Linked DNA regions of Homo sapiens: region 1 is linked to region 2. The links are contacts of gene promoters, found by promoter capture Hi-C in human tissues and cell types (Jung and others, 2019). All regions are on one chromosome and are shown on one strand. Each heading gives the region's core, a stretch centred on a gene start or on the middle of the fragment in contact. The rest is flanking DNA. Distances are from core to core; before and after follow the strand shown.

Region 1 (4,338 bases), core at 373-2,872, 500 kb after region 2:
GGCATTTGTCATTTGTAATATGTCCCCTTCCATTCTAGTTCTTGCTCGGTAAACCAGTTCAAAAACGCTCATTTCTGCCTCATTCTTCATTCTCTAGCCCCATGCCTCTCCAGGATGGTCAGAGGCCACCTTAGATGGCCCCGGCCTGCCCTGTACTTAGCTTCCCTTCCTCTCACCCCATAAGCCCTCTGTGAAGAGCAGGCTCTCTCCCTCCGCTCCACTGCCCCAGCGTCTTAGCTGAGTTCATGACCATTTTCAAAAATAAACAACAAATATAGTGGGCTGTGGGGGAGACAACGCACTTTGGAGCAAGAGGATCATGAGTCATGGTTTGGCTATTTCTCTGAATTCTAGTCTTGATCAAGTTACTGAAGCTCCCTGTGCCTCACTTTTTTCATCTGTAAACTGGGACTGATGGTATGTATTATCTACCTGACGTGGTTGTTGAGGAGATAAGAGCAAATGGGAGCAGGCATACAAAAGCCCAGGAGTGACGGCAGATTGTGCTAGAGGGCTGGGACACAGCCACATGTCCCACAGGGCCCTGACCACAGCAGGGAATATAGACCCATGACCAGCCCCACACCCCAGAAGAAAGTCAGATGAAAACTGAGATCACTTATTTTCTAAGGTCCTTCTTTCCTTGGGGAGTGTCTATTTGCATGGCCAGTGTAAGAGTGAATGGATTCAAACAGGATAATGGGAACAACTGCGGAAGCTTGGTCCAAACAACTTGAGTTGACCTCCTTAAGTGTAGCCTCCTGTGGTGACAGCGCACAGGAAATGAGGGGAATTGTTGCCTCTTTGTCCAGTTAGAGCTGAGTTACAGCTCAGAGAACCCTTTAGAACCTTGGATGAAAGGAGCTAGACTTCTTTCTGCCCACGATTCTAGAACACCAACCCTGTGGACACACCTTTTTTAAAACCACCAAACAAAACCACATGGAGTGTTTATAACCAAGGAATAATGGCTCGGACCTCCCTTCCCTCAGATAGCAGGAGCTTCTTACGTAAGGGGCACTCGATTGTGTTCACAGAGCCAACAGCATGAGTCACTGACCCCTGAGGTCATTCTGGCTCTTTTCAAAGCAAACAGAGTCCTGTTTTATAGATACAGGTAAGAAGTGAAAGAAAAAAGAAAAAGACAAAAGTTAAGAATCTGAAGGCACCCAGTGAGCAGTGGGGACAAGCACCTTCTCTGTTCATTGCTGGAATCCTGGTCACCCTCGCAGAGGCAGCACATTAATGGTTCAAGGCCTTTGCACCAGTGTGTGATGTAATCGCCACAGCTCAGCAGATTGCTGAAGGAACCACCCAGCTGCTTCTTACAAGTACATACATATCCATGGTGAAAATGTTCTCTGTGCTTGTTCCCTGGGCACAATTCACAACAGAATTTAGAACTGTACTCAACATGCCTCCCTGCACTAAATATATGTCATTGCTAACGTGTGGCTCTGTCACAGAAGCCTCCGAGCTATTCAGAAACTCTCAGGAGGTCAGAAGGGCTACCTTTGTCCAGAGCTCTGGTTAAAGATTAACAGGCTGGAGTCTTTGGGCCTGGCAGGGCCTAATGTAGTCTGCTGTCACCTCTCCGGGGTGAAGGAGCTGTGCGGGGCAGGCCCAGTGCCCACCGGATGACAAGAACAAAAGCCACCACACCCAGAGGCAGGATCTAGCATCTTGACCCCAGCTCTCCCTGAACTTCTCGGGGCCTCTGTTTCCTCAGTTGTGACATAGTGGGGTTGGACCTGACTCCCAGGGTACATGACAGAGGAGGTTTGCAAGGGAGCTGGGCTGGGGTTTGGCCTGCTGCTGGGGCCCTGAGCCCTGACTGCCCCATGGAAGCACAGCAGTGCAGCCCACTTCTGCGTCTGTTGGGGCCTCCAGCTTTCCTCTTCAGGGTTGCTGAGGAAGTTCTGGCAAGTTCCATCCACAGGAAGGTGTGCTGGGGAGGGATAGCAAATGGCAGACGCAAACACTAAGCCACAGGAAGCTCCCCATGGGACCACCAGGTGAAAACTGAGCTTGGCCTTGCTCAGGGGAGCAACCTGACATGGGTTTTTTTTGTTTTTTTGGGGTTTTTTTTGAGACAGTCTTGCTCTGTCGCCCAGACTGGAGTGCAATGGCATGATCTTGGCTCACTGCAACCTCTGCCTCCTGGGTTCAAGCGATTCTCCTGCCTCAGCCTCCTGAGTAGCTGGGATTACAGGAGTGTGCCACAACTCCCCGCTAATTTTTGTATTTTTAGTAGGGACGGGATTTCACATGTTGCCCAGGCTGGTCTCAAATACCTGACCTCGTGATCCACCCACCTTGGACTTCCAAAGTGCTGAGTTTACAGGCATGAGCCACCACGCCCGGCCACCTGACATGGTTTTTATGTTCTGTGAGAAGTTTTGTTGTTTTCTTCTTTTTAACGAGAAGATTTATGAGAATTCCTGCATCTTAACATCTATCCTGACACCGAGATAGAAGGCATTCTGAAACTACACATAATCCAGAAATGTGAACTTCCACCTCGTACCCAGAGGCCTCGCCCAACATCAGGTGCTCTCAGGCTCCAGATCCATTTTCAGTCAGGAAAAGAAATGAAAATACAAAACCAAGCAATTGAGTGAGCCATCTCTTAAGGACTGAATTATCAGGCATCTATAATGCTCTTTACCCTTTTTTCTTTCCCAGTCAGCGATGCTGCTTACACTACACATAAGATAAATGCAGCCTGGAAATGCAGCCTTCCCATTTTTGTTCCAAGCAGGTGGAAGCTTCTCCCTGCTGCTGTGTGGTCCTGACACACATACCCCAGTTAAAAACAAATAAAAACAGAAATGGCCCCACCATCACTAAATAAAACACCATGTATCTCCTTTGGTCCAATCACCCCATCTCACGTGGCTGAGTGACGCTGGCAGAGCATGGACCCCTGGATGCTGGGTAACTGCAGCAGAGATTCTCTCCCTCTGTAAACAGGCTGCAACCCGAGGAATGAATGTGTGCCTTCTTCTAGGGCTGCTCCTACCCTTTGCTTGCACAGCCTCTCTCTGTGCTCTGGTTCATTACAATGCTGAAGTCACTCTGCTTATCAGGGACCTTTGAGCTGCAGAGCACTGGCAGAGGCTGTGAGGAGGGATAAAAGAAACAGAGGACTGTATTTCTGGCCCTGAGGAGTCTACCTTCTAAGGAAGAAGCAGGTAAAGTGCATATAAAAGATAATATGTTACTACATACATAAAGAAATGCAAACTCCTCTGCTGTGAACGATACTCTCAAGCCCTGGGGGCTATGGGATTAGTGAACATCGTCAACCAGGTAACTCAGGGAAAGCTTAGCCGGGTGGTGAATCCATCATTGATCCCACTAGCACAGATAGTCAGGTGCAGACATTCCAGTCAGTAAAGGCTTGCCCTCCAGTGTGCATGCTAGTGCAGGCATCCCAGGGTAGGAAACTGTAGGCAGGCTTGTTGCAGCAGTGTGGGAAAGAAACAGGGGTGAGCCACGCGGAAGGACTTACCCATGCAGAACATCAGCGCCCATTCACACATCTGTCCCTTTAACAAATGTGTATTGCCTGTTCTGACACTGACATGAGCATTCATTCATGCTGACAAATCTGGCTAATTATGATAGGCAATCAGCAACCAAGCAATGATACAGTCAGAGTAGCATTGGAAGAAGAGATTTTTGAGATGACATGAGGAAAGGCTTAGAGGATAAGAGAGGCTGGAAATGAAAACTCAGAAAATAACAAGACTTGAGTGGGTTTTATTTAGAAAAAATATTAATGACACAAAACTTACAGAATTTTGGCCTCATTGTTTTGTGGTCTTTTTAATCAGCTTAACATGTTAGAAATAGACACATAACATGCTACAAGAAAATAGAGAGGACCCGGGCTTGGTGGCAGGAGCCTATAGTCCCAGCTACTTGGGAGGCTGAGGTGGGGGATCGCTTGAGCCCAGGAGTTCAAGGCTGTAGTGTGAGATGATCATGCCTCTGAGCAGCCACTATACTTCAGCCTGGGCAACATAGTAAGACCCCATCTCTTAAAAGAAAAAAACAGAGCGTGAGGTAGGTATTCACTAATATTAGTTTATGAAAGGCATAATTTTTTCCAGCAAATTCAGTAAAACCTGGAGACCATAACCTGGGATATTACCCAAAATGGTCATAGATCCCGCACGCTGTCCAACCACCTACCAACTCCACCCTACAGTCTTCATAACAAGTGATATGGTTTGGATGTTTTGTCCTCTCCAAATCTCATGCGAAATGTGACCTCTAATGTTAAAGGTGGGCCTAGTGGGAGGTGTTTAGGTCATGGAAGTAGACCCCTCA
Region 2 (4,203 bases), core at 717-3,216:
GCAAACTAAAAGAGTGAGAACTCACTCGTTACTGAAGAATGGCACCAAGCCATGCATGAGGGATCTGCCCCCATGACCCACACACTTCCCACTAGGCCCCACCTCCAACATTGGGGATCAATTTCAACTTCAGATTTGGAGGAATTATCCCAACTATATCAGGAGGTCATCTTGAAACTTCCAGCCCTGCTGTCTCTCCATCAGAATCCAACTGCGGAGGAACTGCCCAGCTAACCCTCAGAATCATAAGAAATAATAAATCTTAGCTGTTTTAAACCACTGAGTTTTGGAGTGAATTATGCAGCAAAAGCTGAAACCGATGGTGTCCTGCATGTCCCATAGAACTACATATAACCATTTCCCCACCTTATTCAATCTTTATTAAGGCTACTTTGGTTGCAAACATCAGAAACCAACCCCAGCCAGCTTAAACAAAAGGAAAGTGCATTAGAATGTCCCTAATGTAAGTCAAGGAACAGAAAATAAAGTTGGGAAGGGGAGAAATCATGGCGTCCGCGGACTCATTAGCAGCAGGGTATCCTGGAGTTTCCGTCCAGAAAACTGCCATTAACACAATCCCGTGCTAATGATTGGACTAGTAACTTCAAGTTTTCAGAGCAGACGGTCTGACCCGCCCCATTTGGGCCAGTAGCCGCCTCTGAATCATTTAGCTATGATGAGGTGGGCGGTGGTGGTGGGAGGCAGGATGCGGACACGTAGAAAGTAGGTGAATTCGTGGGAATCCTGACGTGGAAGCCGTGAGCGCTACTCACGGCCTGGGCTTGCTTTTTAACTGCTATATATATATTTAGATTTTCCAAAAGTTTTTTCCTTTCAAATCTTTTTGCAGCTACTGTATCAAGGCTCTTTTTTTAAGAAAGGGAAAATAGTGCAGGACCACTTCTGAAACTGTAACAAATGGGGCAACGTTGTATTCTTCTGTACAATGTAACTGGATCTGTGAAGGTTTTTATTTTTTATTTTTTATTTTTTTTGAGACGGAGTCTTGCTCTGTCGCCCAGGCTGGAGTGCAGTGGCGCAATCTAGGCTCACTGCAAGCTCCGCCTCCCGGGTTCACGCCATTCTCCTGCCTCAGGCTCCCGAGTAGCTGGGACTACAGCCGTTCACCACCACGCCGGGCTAATTCTTTTTATTTTTATTTTTTTAGTAGAGATGGGGTTTCACTGTGTTAGCCAGGATGGTCTCGATCTCCTGACCTCGTGAGCCACCCGCCTCGGCCTCCCAAAATGCTGGGATTACAGGCGTGAGCCACAGCGCTCAGCCGGATCTGTGGAGGTTTTATGAGCAAAAAGGGAAAACAGTGCGGGGCCACTTTTGAAACTGTAACAAATGGGGCAACGTTGTATACTTCTGCACAAAGTAACTGGATCTGTGAAGGTTTTATGTGTAAAAAGGGAAAAGAGTGTGGGGCCACTTTTGAAACTGTAACAAATGGGACAACTTTGTATACTTCTGCACAACGTAAGTTAATCTGTCAAGCTTTTATGTGCAAACGAATCTCTGAGCGAGTGAAATGGTTTTGATCAAAATCTAAAAGAATTTGGGGAGTGTAGATATAAAAGGGAGTTAAAGCCAGAGTAACAGGTGTTGTGAACACAGAGAGGAAGAACCGGTAGGTTTCGAGTGAGGACAGAGAGTGTCGCCCCCGGCCGCAGCCTGGGGGGGCTGCATATCTGGAGGGATCATCTCTTGCCCCTAACTGACGACTCCTGCAGAGTGACGCGTGCCTGGGACAGCGTCTGCTGGGACCAGGGTGGACGGGCACCTCAAATAAGTGGGCCAGGGACCTGGGCCTGGGCCCCTCGGACTGGCAGGCACGCCCGCACCCCCGCGCCTCGCGCTCTCTACGGAAGCAGCCGCCCCCACGGAGCGGGCGGAGGCCCGGGGGCCGGGAGCGCGCGTGGAGGCTCCGGGACTGAGGCGGCGCCACCGCCTCCCGCCTGCAGCTGGAGCGCGGGCCGCCGCGGCGACATCTTGCTCAGGAGGAAAGCGCGCGGGAGAGCGAGCTGCGCTTTAGCTGCTGCGCCACGCGCGCCTCGGGCCTGGGCGCAGAGGATCGGCCGGGCGCGGCGGGAAGGAGGTAAGGCAGCCCCGCGGGACCGCACGCCTAGCTCAGGGGACGCCTCCGGAGACCCCAGGACCACCCGATCACGGGCCCCGCCGCTCCCCTCCCTCGCTCCTCCTCCCGCTCAGCCCCAGTCTCCTGCGGTCCCCTCGCCCCAGCCCGCAGCCTCCCTGCCTTCCGCCCACTGAGCAGCCCTCCTCGGCGGCGCGCCCCTCGACCCCAGCAGCCCCGGTCCCCGCCTCTGCTCTTGGTCCCGGCCGCCGGGTGAGGCCGCCCCCGCCCCGCCCCCTCCCCGCCCTCGCCGGGACCCGCCCCCTGCTCCCGTCCGGGCGGGGCTCCGGGTTTAAACGTCGCGGCGGGCAGGGCCGGCGGAGGGGCGGGGCGGCCTCTGTGTCGTGTACCGGGTCCCGTAGGCTGCGGGCAGCGAGGAGCGGCTGGCGCTCGAGGCGGCGGACGGCACCATGTCCCCGGGGAGCGGGGTGAAGAGCGAGTACATGAAGCGCTACCAGGAGCCGCGCTGGGAGGAGTACGGGCCGTGCTACCGCGAGCTGCTGCACTACCGCCTAGGCCGCCGGCTGCTGGAGCAGGCGCACGCGCCCTGGCTCTGGGACGACTGGGGCCCGGCCGGCTCCTCGGAGGACTCGGCGTCGTCAGAGTCGTCGGGCGCCGGGGGCCCCGCACCCCGGTGCGCCCCGCCCTCGCCCCCGCCGCCCGTAGAGCCGGCGACCCAGGAGGAGGCGGAACGGCGGGCGCGCGGGGCCCCGGAGGAGCAGGACGCGGAGGCCGGGGACGCGGAGGCCGAGGACGCGGAGGACGCGGCTCTGCCAGGTACCCGGCCCGGAGGGGAGCGCGAGGGGCCTGCACGCAGGGACGGTTTGCTCTAAGCTCTGAGCAGCTGATCTCTTATTTCTTGCGCCACTCGGGGCTGGCTCTTCCTTTTTTTTTTTTCGGTTGACAGAATCCGTCTCTCTTGACAAAATAGGGAAGGTGGCAGCCTTTGCCACCCTTTATTTCCTTAATTAGGTGGCTTTCGGTCGAGCCAGCGGTGAACTCAATTGAAGCGCCGCTGGCTGAGTCTGGGGTCTTTCCTCGCGGGCCTCTGCGGCTTGGCAAACCTCTGAATCCCATCTTATTTCTTGGCGAACCACTGAGTCCCATCTGCTTATTTCTAGGCGCCCATTTTTGATCAGAGGAGCCCCAGCTTTAATCAGATTCTCAAAGGTAACCCAAAAGGTTAAGAACCACAGAGCTAAGCTTTGTCTGATGAATGGGGCCATTGTTTTCCGTATTAACTCCCCGACCTCGCTACGCTGTCCCTAAAGAATATTTTGCATTTGTTTACGTGGAGTGTTGAATAACTTGGCTGTGAGAGCATCTTTATAAGTGCTAGGGCCTCTCCCCTTCCGTCCCTCCCCATCCTCCCTCGCCTGTCCAGATCCGAAAGCGCCGGTGGCGCTGCGCGTGTTTTCAAGGCATGGCCCCTTCACCTTCTTTCCTGCCCAGAGGCTTGCAGGGCTGGGGACCCAGTTGAACGCCTCAGTACAGCCTGGAGTAACCAATGGTTCCTTCCAGATCACTGGATTTTAAAAAGGCTCGAGTGAGGAAAACATGGAAAATGTATTGGGAGCCTGTTAGACATTCAGTCACTGATCTGGGAATATGTATGTTGTCATTTAATATTCAAAACAATCCCAAAAGAGACCATGTTGTAATCTTTTTTTTTTTTTTTTTTTGAGACGGAGTCTCGCTCTGTGGCCCAGGCTGGAGCGCAGTGGCGCGATCTCGGCTCACTGCAACCTCTGCCTCCCGGATTCACGTCATTCTCCTGCCTCAGCCTCCCGAGTAGCTGGGATTACAGGCACGCGCCACCACGCCCGGCTAATTTTTGTATTTTTAGTGGAGACGGGGTTTCACCATGTTGGTCAGGCTGGTCTCAAACTCCTCACCTCGTGATCCGCCCGCCTCGGCCTCCCAAAGTGTTGGGATTACAGGAGTGAGCCACCATGCCCGGCCCTAATCTCAGTTTTATAGATGAAAAAACGGAAGCTCAGGATCAGTGACTTTATTCATTTATGTGTTTATTTTTGTTTACCCGATTGCAAGCCAATCAGACTCTT

What was found. The method cuts DNA at HindIII sites, captures the fragments that hold promoters and counts their contacts. A contact is called where the count stands out against the background at its distance.
Region 1: a fragment that was not itself captured here is called in contact with the fragment with the promoter of CCSAP in region 2 in 2 of the 25 tissues and cell types used here (dorsolateral prefrontal cortex and hippocampus).

What each region holds. Positions count from the first base shown.
Region 1 is chr1:228,835,331-228,839,668 of GRCh38, reverse strand. No RefSeq gene overlaps it. Among named protein-coding and RNA genes, the nearest start is that of RHOU, 100 kb to the right of the region's middle. The HindIII fragment of the contact is 4,581 bases long and covers 1-3,912 here.
Region 2 is chr1:229,340,810-229,345,012 of GRCh38, reverse strand. CCSAP (centriole, cilia and spindle associated protein) reads left to right here and starts at 1,966. Exons shown (of 4, transcript NM_145257.5): 1 at 1,966-2,101; 2 at 2,500-2,914. The coding sequence starts at 2,548. RefSeq lists silencers at 517-811, 1,658-2,517, 2,718-2,917. The HindIII fragment of the contact is 5,214 bases long and covers 1-4,203 here.